Linked DNA regions of Homo sapiens: region 2 is linked to region 1. Evidence: promoter capture Hi-C in human tissues and cell types (Jung and others, 2019). All regions are on one chromosome and are shown on one strand. Each heading gives the region's core, a stretch centred on a gene start or on the middle of the fragment in contact. The rest is flanking DNA. Distances are from core to core; before and after follow the strand shown. Region 1 holds the start of C11orf71 (chromosome 11 open reading frame 71). Region 2 overlaps NXPE2 (neurexophilin and PC-esterase domain family member 2).

What was found. The method cuts DNA at HindIII sites, captures the fragments that hold promoters and counts their contacts. A contact is called where the count stands out against the background at its distance.
Region 2: a contact is called between a fragment that was not itself captured here and the fragment with the promoter of C11orf71 in region 1, in 1 of the 25 tissues and cell types used here (mesendoderm cells).

The regions. Positions count from the first base shown.
Region 1 is chr11:114,398,971-114,403,907 of GRCh38, reverse strand. It overlaps C11orf71 (chromosome 11 open reading frame 71), which reads left to right and starts at 3,397. Exons shown (of 1, transcript NM_001271562.2): 1 at 3,397-4,937. The coding sequence starts at 3,577. The coding sequence ends at 3,948. It overlaps RBM7 (RNA binding motif protein 7), which reads right to left and starts at 3,242. Exons shown (of 5, transcript NM_001286045.2): 1 at 3,141-3,242; 2 at 2,048-2,210; 3 at 993-1,080. The coding sequence starts at 3,236. RefSeq lists enhancers at 3,070-3,612, 3,510-3,899, 3,613-4,155. The HindIII fragment of the contact is 14,324 bases long and covers 1-4,937 here.
Region 2 is chr11:114,703,408-114,707,891 of GRCh38, reverse strand. NXPE2 (neurexophilin and PC-esterase domain family member 2) reads right to left here. Exons shown (of 6, transcript NM_182495.6): 4 at 3,840-3,901; 5 at 1,896-2,111; 6 at 823-1,497. The coding sequence ends at 962. Among named protein-coding and RNA genes, the nearest start is that of NXPE2, 27 kb to the right of the region's middle. The HindIII fragment of the contact is 6,972 bases long and covers 1-4,484 here.

The DNA of each region.
Region 1 (4,937 bases), core at 2,148-4,647:
TTACAGTAATTGAACAGGTATTCACAAAAATATATATAATATGTGTCTTCATTTAGACTTTAAGCTCCTCTAGATAATACATCATAGTGGCTGGGCTCAATCACACTACACTGCCTGGGTTTGAATCCCAGCCCACTGAACCTGAGCAAGTTAACCTCCATTTTTCATTTCCCTTCATATAAGAGGTAGAGATAAAAATAATCCCTACCCTCATAAAACTGCTGTGAGGAATAAATGAAATCATATATGTAAAAGATATGGTGAAGAACCTGACATATGGCAGGTATTTATTAAATCTTTCTTAAATGACTGTTAAATAGCTTTATGGATATACCGGGAAAAATTGTCCCTGGTAAAATATGAACCTCCCCAAAGCAAATAAAATCATTTAAGTAAATATGATATTTTCTAATACTCAGTACCTGAAGAGATTTTACAAATCATTTAATTCAACTTATTTTCCTTACACATGGGAAGACGGGACTAAAGAAAGGAGACTAGCTCAAGATTACACAATTGATAGATGCAGACCTAGAATCCAATTCTAGGAATTCTTAGTCCAATAGACTGTTGACTAACTGGTATTTTTCAACTGTAAGTAACAACCAATTAATGACTGTAAAATAAATTTTAAAATGTTTTAAATGAAATAGTAATCCAAGTAGTGAGGGTAAATAATGTTTTGAGAAATTTTGTTTCAAGTGTATACATGTACTGTACACATATGTGGGTATGGTTATGTCGCTACAAATCAACAAATAGTTATATACGTATCTATTCTAAGGGGACTATATACAATGTGTTTGTCTATAGAATAGACACATTCTATACCCCTTAGAATAGATACATAACAACAACCCCAAAAGGCAAGTAATAACGGCAGAATGAAGAGATAAGAGAATAATGAAGGAGACTATTTACTCATGTGTTTTGAGGCTATTCCCTATAAGAATTCCTGATAAATGATCTTAACAATAAGTGAGAAATATTACCTGCTAGGAGATGTGGAGGTAGGGCTTGAATTTCCAACATGATGTTGGGGATATGACAAACTGACATCTTGTGGGGCATGACTACTTCCTAAAATGAAACAATTTGAAAAATTATTCTTGATAGAAAATCTAATTTGAAATTTTGTCTTCCCCACTTGAAATCACTCCAAAAAGGTAAACACAATCTAAAAGAGAAAAATCTCAAACTACTGGCCGGGCGCGGTGGCTGACGCCTGTAATCCCAGCACTTTGGGAGGCTGACGTGGGCACATCTCTCGAGGCCAGGAGTTCGAGACCAGCCTGACCAACATGGTGAAACCCCACCTCTACTAAAAATACAAAGAATTAGCCAGGCGTGGTGGCGTGCACCTGTAATCCCAGCTACTCAGGAGGCTAAGGCAGGAGAATCACTTGAACCTGGGAGGCAGAGGTTGCAGTGAGCTGAAATTGCACCACTGCACTCCAGCCTAGGCAACAGGGCAAGACTCCATCTCAAAAAAAAAAAAAAAAAAAAAAAAAAAAAAAAAAAAAAAGAATCTCAAGCTGCTGTAGACCGCTTTACGGCTTCATCGGGGTGAAAATTATAAGTGTATAATATCAGATAAGCAAAACAAAGCACTCCATAAATATCCAATCTGACCATAATTTTCTGATCTCCACCCTAAATTGTAACACTGGATACATGGACAGTTTCATCCTCACATGATCAAGAACCAAAATATATAAAAGTAATTACAAAGCAGCCAGGAGAAGTATTTTCAGAAAATAAACCTAGCTCTTTTCAGAGTACCCAAGCCCAGCTCTCTTAGTGATACAGTTTATGTTTTTTCACTAACCCAAAATGAAACTTTAAGCTCAGTTTTGAAATTCTAATTTCAAAATCCATGTGTCAATGTTACCCGTTTTCAGGGATATATAAAGTTTGCTATATAAAGTTTACTATTCACAATGCTTAAGAAAGAAGTTTCATCTACAAATAAGAGGTTCTTTAAAACTGAATAATAAATTTAAAAACAGCAGGAAACAATGCCCCCCGAACCTCATTGGGCAGTTACCTGATCTAAATTGAATTTTGATAGGCCTTCCATAAAGTTTGATTCCATTAAGTAGATTCATTGCATAAGGAACAGACACTTCATGTTTGAAATTCACAAACGCAAACTGCTTTGGTTTACCATCCTTATCTTTTGGAATTTTCACCTTTATTACTGGCCCAGCCTACAAACAAAAAGGTGTTTAGAATTTAAATAAAGCAACTAAGGGAAAATACTCAAATTTTACAAATAAGATATGACAAAGTTTAAAAACAACAGAAACGTAATCAGAAACTTCTTTTGAAAATGATGCACGGATTTCCATTTTGGCTACAGTAAACATCCTAGTTATGACTGAACATTAGATTTATTTGGGGAAGGGGGCCCATAAGGAACTGGAAACACAATCACTTTTGCAATTCACAGCACTGTATGGCTTAACATAGTGACCAATCGCCATTATTTTGCCACTCCATGAAAATGAACATTTATCAAGAACAAGAGAATGATTTTCTTTAACTAAAAACGGACTTTTGTATTGATTAATCAAACAATACCAGTTATTAGGGGATAGGGATGGGGGGAATAGGATACTCAGAATTTTTCACACTTTTTAATACAGCAACACTAAAATGCTGTTTTTCTACGGAGTACTTAACCATTTTATTTTACATATTTTAATAATGCTGCAATTTGATAAGCAAACTTTAGGGGAAAACAGACACAAATAAATTAAAATATTAAGTTCCCAGTCAGATAAACCAAAGACAAATTATCCTAAGGGGAAGATGACAACAGGAAGGATAAGAAAAAGCACTGCTCAACGAAGACCCTACACACACACTGTGTTCCCAAGGACCCCTGGATCTCTACCACGGGAAACCTGATCGAGGATCCCTCCACCACCTTTAGTCGTCACTTTCGGCCTAAACGAACCAAGATCTTCCAGGAAAGCGACACCCAGCGAGCGTTTCGCAACCCAGACCCGCCTTTCACCCCCAAACAGCCACCCGTCGGGTCCCCTGACGGCTACGAAAAGAAAACGGGGTGGCCGCTGGCCAGGCCCTAGGCGAGACGGAAAACGAAAGGCAAAGGGCCGAACCCAGCCGCTTACCTGGTGGAAAAGCTCGAAAAGGAGCTCCTCGGTCACTTTCGTTTCAAGGTTGCCCACAAAGAGAGTGCGATCCGCTTCCGCCGCCGCCGCCCCCATCTCAGCGTCGCCCCCTCCCTAACCTGGCCAAAAGGTCGTGGCCGACGCACCCACTGCGCATTCACGGAAGCCCCACGTCCTCACGCTCCCTGGCGTCACAAACGAAAACGCCCGTTGCGCTTGCTCTCAGCGGGCGACGACGTGCGCGGACGGTCTGCGCATGCTCGCCAGGATACCCCTCGTTAAAGGCAAGGCGGCTTCTGGCTCTTCCGCAGGCTCAGTTATGGGTTCCTGTGTGCTTAGTCATCGGGTCCGACACAGGCTGGACTGATCTGGGGAGCCGCGAAGGGCCTGCCTTCACAAAGGGACGTAACGCAAGTACTGCGGGCAGTGTTTGAATATGGCCCTGAACAATGTGTCCCTGTCCTCCGGTGATCAGAGGAGCAGGGTGGCCTACCGCTCTTCCCATGGCGACCTCAGACCGCGGGCGTCAGCGTTGGCGATGGTCTCCGGAGACGGCTTCCTCGTTTCCAGGCCTGAAGCGATTCATCTAGGACCTCGGCAGGCGGTGCGACCAAGCGTTCGGGCCGAGAGCCGTCGAGTGGATGGTGGCGGCCGGAGCCCAAGGGAACCAGATGGCCGGGGCCGGAGCCGCCAAGCCAGATTCTCACCTTACCCAATCCCTGCCGTTGAACCCGATCTCCTAAGAAGTGTGCTGCAACAGCGTTTGATTGCATTAGGAGGTGTTATCGCAGCTCGAATTTCAGTTTAAACGAACACCTTTCCTCTGGCCCTCACTTAGCTTGTGAACAGGCCTTTTTAAAATCCTTTCTTGGTGTAGCAGCAATCGTGTTGTTTTATTTTTAGATGGATGTATTTTCATTTAATACGTGGGAGTTATATGAATATGTCCTAGCACTAAGGGAAGTGTAACAGTTGATTGATTTAGGTGGTTTTATGCAGCCAGAACGATTGGATCAGGAAAGGTGTGGAAGGGATATTCTTAGGTCGTCACAAAGCTGAGCTGATGGGAGCACCCTCCCCAGAGGTCAACAATCCATTCGTTAACTCAGACACTTAACCTTTACCTTTACTTCTGTTGGCGAAAAAGAAGTGCTCCTTTTTATTACACTGATTTATCCTTCCATCTTTTCCTTGGCATTTACCATCTTCCATCTCCCCCTTCACTTTTTTCAGATATGTCTACAAACAGACTCCAATCTCAGTCGCACTAAAAATAAGAACAAAACCTAAACCTTACAGTTCTTTCAAATTATTAAATCAATTTATTATTCCTTTCTTTGGCAAAGGTTCCAAATTTTTACTTTATATTTGTAATTTTACTATTTGCATTCAGTCCCAGCGCATTAATCTGAATCTGCTGTCCTAAAATACACTGGTGAAAACATTACTTGTACAATCTCCTATCAGAAAACTGTTCATCTACTCACTGTAGTGCCCTCCTTGAAATGTGTGTTTGTTCATTCAACTAACAATATTTGGGGATCCCTGTAGTAAACACTGTATGAATTTTACACAGTCTGGCCATCAAGAAAGATCACGGAGTATATTCTAGATGGGGAGGCTACTAAGTGAATAGGAATCACCACGCTGGGCTGTTTATTAGGTACAGTAATAAACATAAGTACTGGTTGCAGTGACTTTTTTTTTTTTTTTTTCATCATAATACTGCACTATCCTGGTTCTTCTCTTACCTGGCTGATCACTCCTTATTTGCTGTTATTTTTGTTCTCTTAACCA
Region 2 (4,484 bases), core at 364-2,863, 310 kb before region 1:
CAGTCTTAAAAATGAAGGAAAATTCTGACAAATGCTACAATATGGATGAACCTTAAAGACATATGCTAAGTGAAATACGCCAGACAGAAAAGGACAAATGCTGCATGTTCCCACTTATATGAGCTACCTAAAATAGTCAAATTCAGAAGGACAGAAAATACAATGGCGGTTGCCATGGGCCAAGGACAGGAGCGAATGGGGAGTTATTGTTTAATAGGTACCAAGTTTCTTTTTGGAATGTTAAAAATGTGCCAGAGATGGATCATGATGAGGGTTTCACAACATTGTAAATTACTTAATATCACTGAATTGTACGCTTAAAAATGGTTTATAGCCAGGTGTGGCGCTGCACACTGGTGATCCCAGCTACGTGGGAGGCTGAGTCAGGAGAATCGCTTGAACCCGGGAGGCAGAGGTTGCAATGAGCTGAGATCATGCCACTGCACTCCAGTCTTGGTGACAGAGTGAGACTGTCTCGAAAAATAAAATAAAATAATGCCGGGCATGGTGGTTCATGCCTGTAATCCCAGCACTTTGGGAGGCCGAGGTGGGCAGATCACCTAAGGTCAGGAGTTCGAGACCAGCCTGGCCAACCAGATAGTGAAACCCCATCTCTACTAAAAAATACAAAAATCAGCTTGGCATGGTGGTGGGCACCTGTAATCCCAGCTACTTGGGAGGCTGAGGCAGGAGAATCACTTGAACCTTGGAGGTGGAGGTTGCAGTAACCCAAGATCACATCACTGCACTCCAGTCTGGGCAACAGGAGCAAAACTCTATCTCAAAAATAAAATAAAATAATAAAATGGCTTAAATGGTAAATGTTATGTTACATATATTTAACTTTAATAGAACTTTTTCAAATTTAGTTTCCTCAAAACTTGGATTGCATTAAACTATCTTCGCTGTATATGTGAGATCATCTATAGAAAGTGGCTAGTGCTATTTTTGTATTTTTCCTCTAACAAATGTAGTTTAAGAACATGCCAATCTGATTTTGAATCACATAATCCGGTGGATGGGCATTGTTGGTGCAATATGCAATCGTCATGTCCCAGGCATCAATAATACCCACATTAAGATCCACAAAAATATCTCTTATGATAAGATTCTGAATATAGCCATGAAAGTCACTGAACATCTCTGCATTTTGTTCTATCTCTCTGGTGTTTTCAGTTTTAAGTATCACCTTGGTCTCCGGGCTTCGCAAGAATAGACGTTCAATGGCCTTTTGAATATTGATGGCCCTACGGATGAAAATGTTGATGGGAAAGGGTCTGAAGTGTTGGCCGAGGGTAATGACAATGGCTGTGTTTTTGTCTCCTGCTACCTGGTCAATTTCCCGTGGGATATAGTTTTCATCTTTCACTGAGAATAATTTTTTGGTAACAAATGGATGACCATGTTTTTTCCACTGAATCAAAATATGTCTTTCAACATCCAGAAGAACATGTGTTTTAAAGATCCCAGCTCCATGATGATCAAAATATTTTAGGGCTGATGAAAGACAAATCAATAAATATTTTAACAAAAGGAAAATGATATAACTTTAAACTGCACACAACATGTATAAAATTCTAACCAAGATCACTTCTAACTAAGCACTATTGCCTATGTAAGGTGGATAATTTTACCAGGTGCATTACAATCTTAACAAAATATTGAACTTGTTATGAGAATACATGAAGAGGAAGAAAAATATTAACATTTGTGAATGAAAAGATAAAATTTAACTTTTTATTAAAAGCCCAAAGCCAAAAGTTAGGCAAATTTAAAATAAAATAAAATAAAATAAAATAAAATAAATATTAGAAAAGAAAAGCAAATAATTCTAATTATTATTTCAAAACCCTCAAAAGTCAAATAGAATTTCAAAATATAAATTAAATACATACTTTTCACAGCTTTTTGTAAGTAGTAAATCCACTGATGCAGTGTTGAATCTCCCATGAGATAAATAAGTTTTCTTTCCAAGCAGTCATTTATATTTTTTGTTTCATTGAACTTGATCTGTTTACAAAATGCTGTAATCCACATTTTTTTCAAAGTATAACCACTGGGGAAAGGAGTCTTCATTCCAATCTGGCAGTTCTTTTTTATGTTCTCGCTCTCTGGCAATACAAATTTCCAGATTAAGTAATTTTTATTACCACAAATTATTTTGGAAAAATGTTTCTCATTTTTGCCTTCCTTTTCCTCTTTTTCCTCCCCCTTTCTCTTCAGCTCTATTTTGCCTTCCTCTCTTCCACAAATATTTATTTAATAAGATCATGTTAAAAGGGTGAATTAAATAGCTTTTCTTGAATAGTTTTTCTTGGAGTGGGGATCTGTTGACTCTTGTGCATTTGCAATGTGTCCCTGGGCTCCACCTTGTCCCCAGAGCCACGCTGCTGTGGAACAGCCAGCCAGAGTCAGGAGGAAATGTGTGGCCGTGAAATAGCAGGGCACAGTGGCCCTGCCAAATATTACACCAATGACATTGGCCTCGCTGAATTGTAAATCTCATCTTCCTCAAACTACTAATCCAGGAAAAGAAGCTTGAATGTGTTTATGAAATGAGTGTGTCACATTGTTTATTTTGTGTGTCCCAGAATCATCTTCTCTGGCTAATACTTTTTTTAAAATCCTTAAATCTTAATTGTCATGTCTAGAACTGAATGTAATATTCTCAGTGTGATCTGACACAGAAAAAAGTAGGATCATGACCTCCCTGTTCTGAACACTCCTCTATTAAAATAGCCTAAACTGTATTTACTGACTCCTATTGAGTTTTCCCCCAGGTAAGTTTCTGAGGCCACTTCTATATTCACCACTTAAAATGCACATCTTCTTTGTCATCTACCTGCATTGTTGGGATATGGGGTACACATTGAGGAACTTACATTTGTTCGTATTGAATAACATCAGATTTGTAAGTGGCTCCAAAAATTACAGTCTGGTACTATCTTCCAAGAAACTGCCTGACTTTACTAGAAATTACTGTCCAGGCAAGAGGGAAATAAAAGAGGTGTTACAAACATTCAAATTGCCTCAAGAATCTAAGAACTTTCTTCAGTGTAAAAGTTGGGTGTGAATGATAGTTGCCCTAGCAGAGAAGGGATCTGTCTTCTTCATAGATTGTGAACTTTACATCTGGGTTCATGATTTATTTGTGTTTATGTTCTCCACAGGGTTTAGCAAATTTCTTTGTACAGTAGGACCTCAGTAAACACTTGCTAAATGCATGAAAAAGGGGTGATGAGTAATGGTACACCCCGTTGATTGTTATAATGGAAGTCCTTTGCTTTACTTTAATTTTGAAATTCACTTCATTTCCCGTGTAGCAGAATCATCACTTCTATGAGTGAAATGGTTTTGTGTTGACCACTAAAGTTCATATGATTAAACTGAGAAAAAATTCACAGAAATTCTAGTTCATAGAACTTCAAGTAAGATGGCTTGGCTAAATGAGAAATTAGAAACCACCAAAGAAATGTCCTAACTCTGAATCTGTGCAGCTCATCTGAGACATTTTTCACATAGCACCAGCACCTGATCATTGGCTCTGGAGGAATAAATCTAAATTTAAATACAAATAGCCTGTACATTTTGAGGCAGTGCCACTGAAGTTAATGGTTTCCCTAGCCTTTTATATCTGACTTGGGATGAAAATTGGTTTAAATCGATATGAAAATAATTTCCAAGAATAAAATCCCTTCTCTAAAACCCAAGGTGGTTGATGTAATTTGTCCCAGGAAATGAGAGATCAAATCGTTAATGTGGAATAAATATCTCTAAGTAAGCATGTCCTTTCCGTGGATAAATTGTGATCATGGCAGACAACAACACTCCAGACTTACTGTTGCATGGTATGACCTCAATGGGGGTAAAGTTCTTCATCATTTCAACTCCTATGTTGGACCTGCAAGAAATGGGAAAATAAATTAGCTTAATATCTGCCCAGATAATAAAGTAGGAATCACTGGTTTAGATGGATTAAACCTCTCTTCTCCAAATGCCTTTCCCCCCTTATTTTGATATATTTAAGATATCCTGGGGAAGTTAATGGGTCAGGATTCTGGAAAGCTGTTCCTCTCCTAATGGCAGGGAATCTAGAGATCCAGAGAAAGTCATTCACCCTCCATACGCAATCCATCAAATCTATCTAACATCTATCTATCTATCTGTCTGTCTGTCTATCTATCTATCTATCATCTATCTATCTATCTATCTATCTATCTATCTATCTATCTATCTATGCTTATTTTAATTTTACCTTCTAAATGGCTCTCTACCACAAACTACCCTCTCCACATTTCCACCTGTAGTAATTCAGGCCCTCATCAACCCTTTCCAAGGCTAGTGTTTCTCAAACTTGAGCGTGCATCAGAATTACCTGCAGTACTTTATTACAACTCCAATTGCTGAGCCTCACACCCAGAATTTCTGATTCAACAGTTATGGGGTAAATTCTCAAGAATTTGGATTTCTATAATAACAAGCTC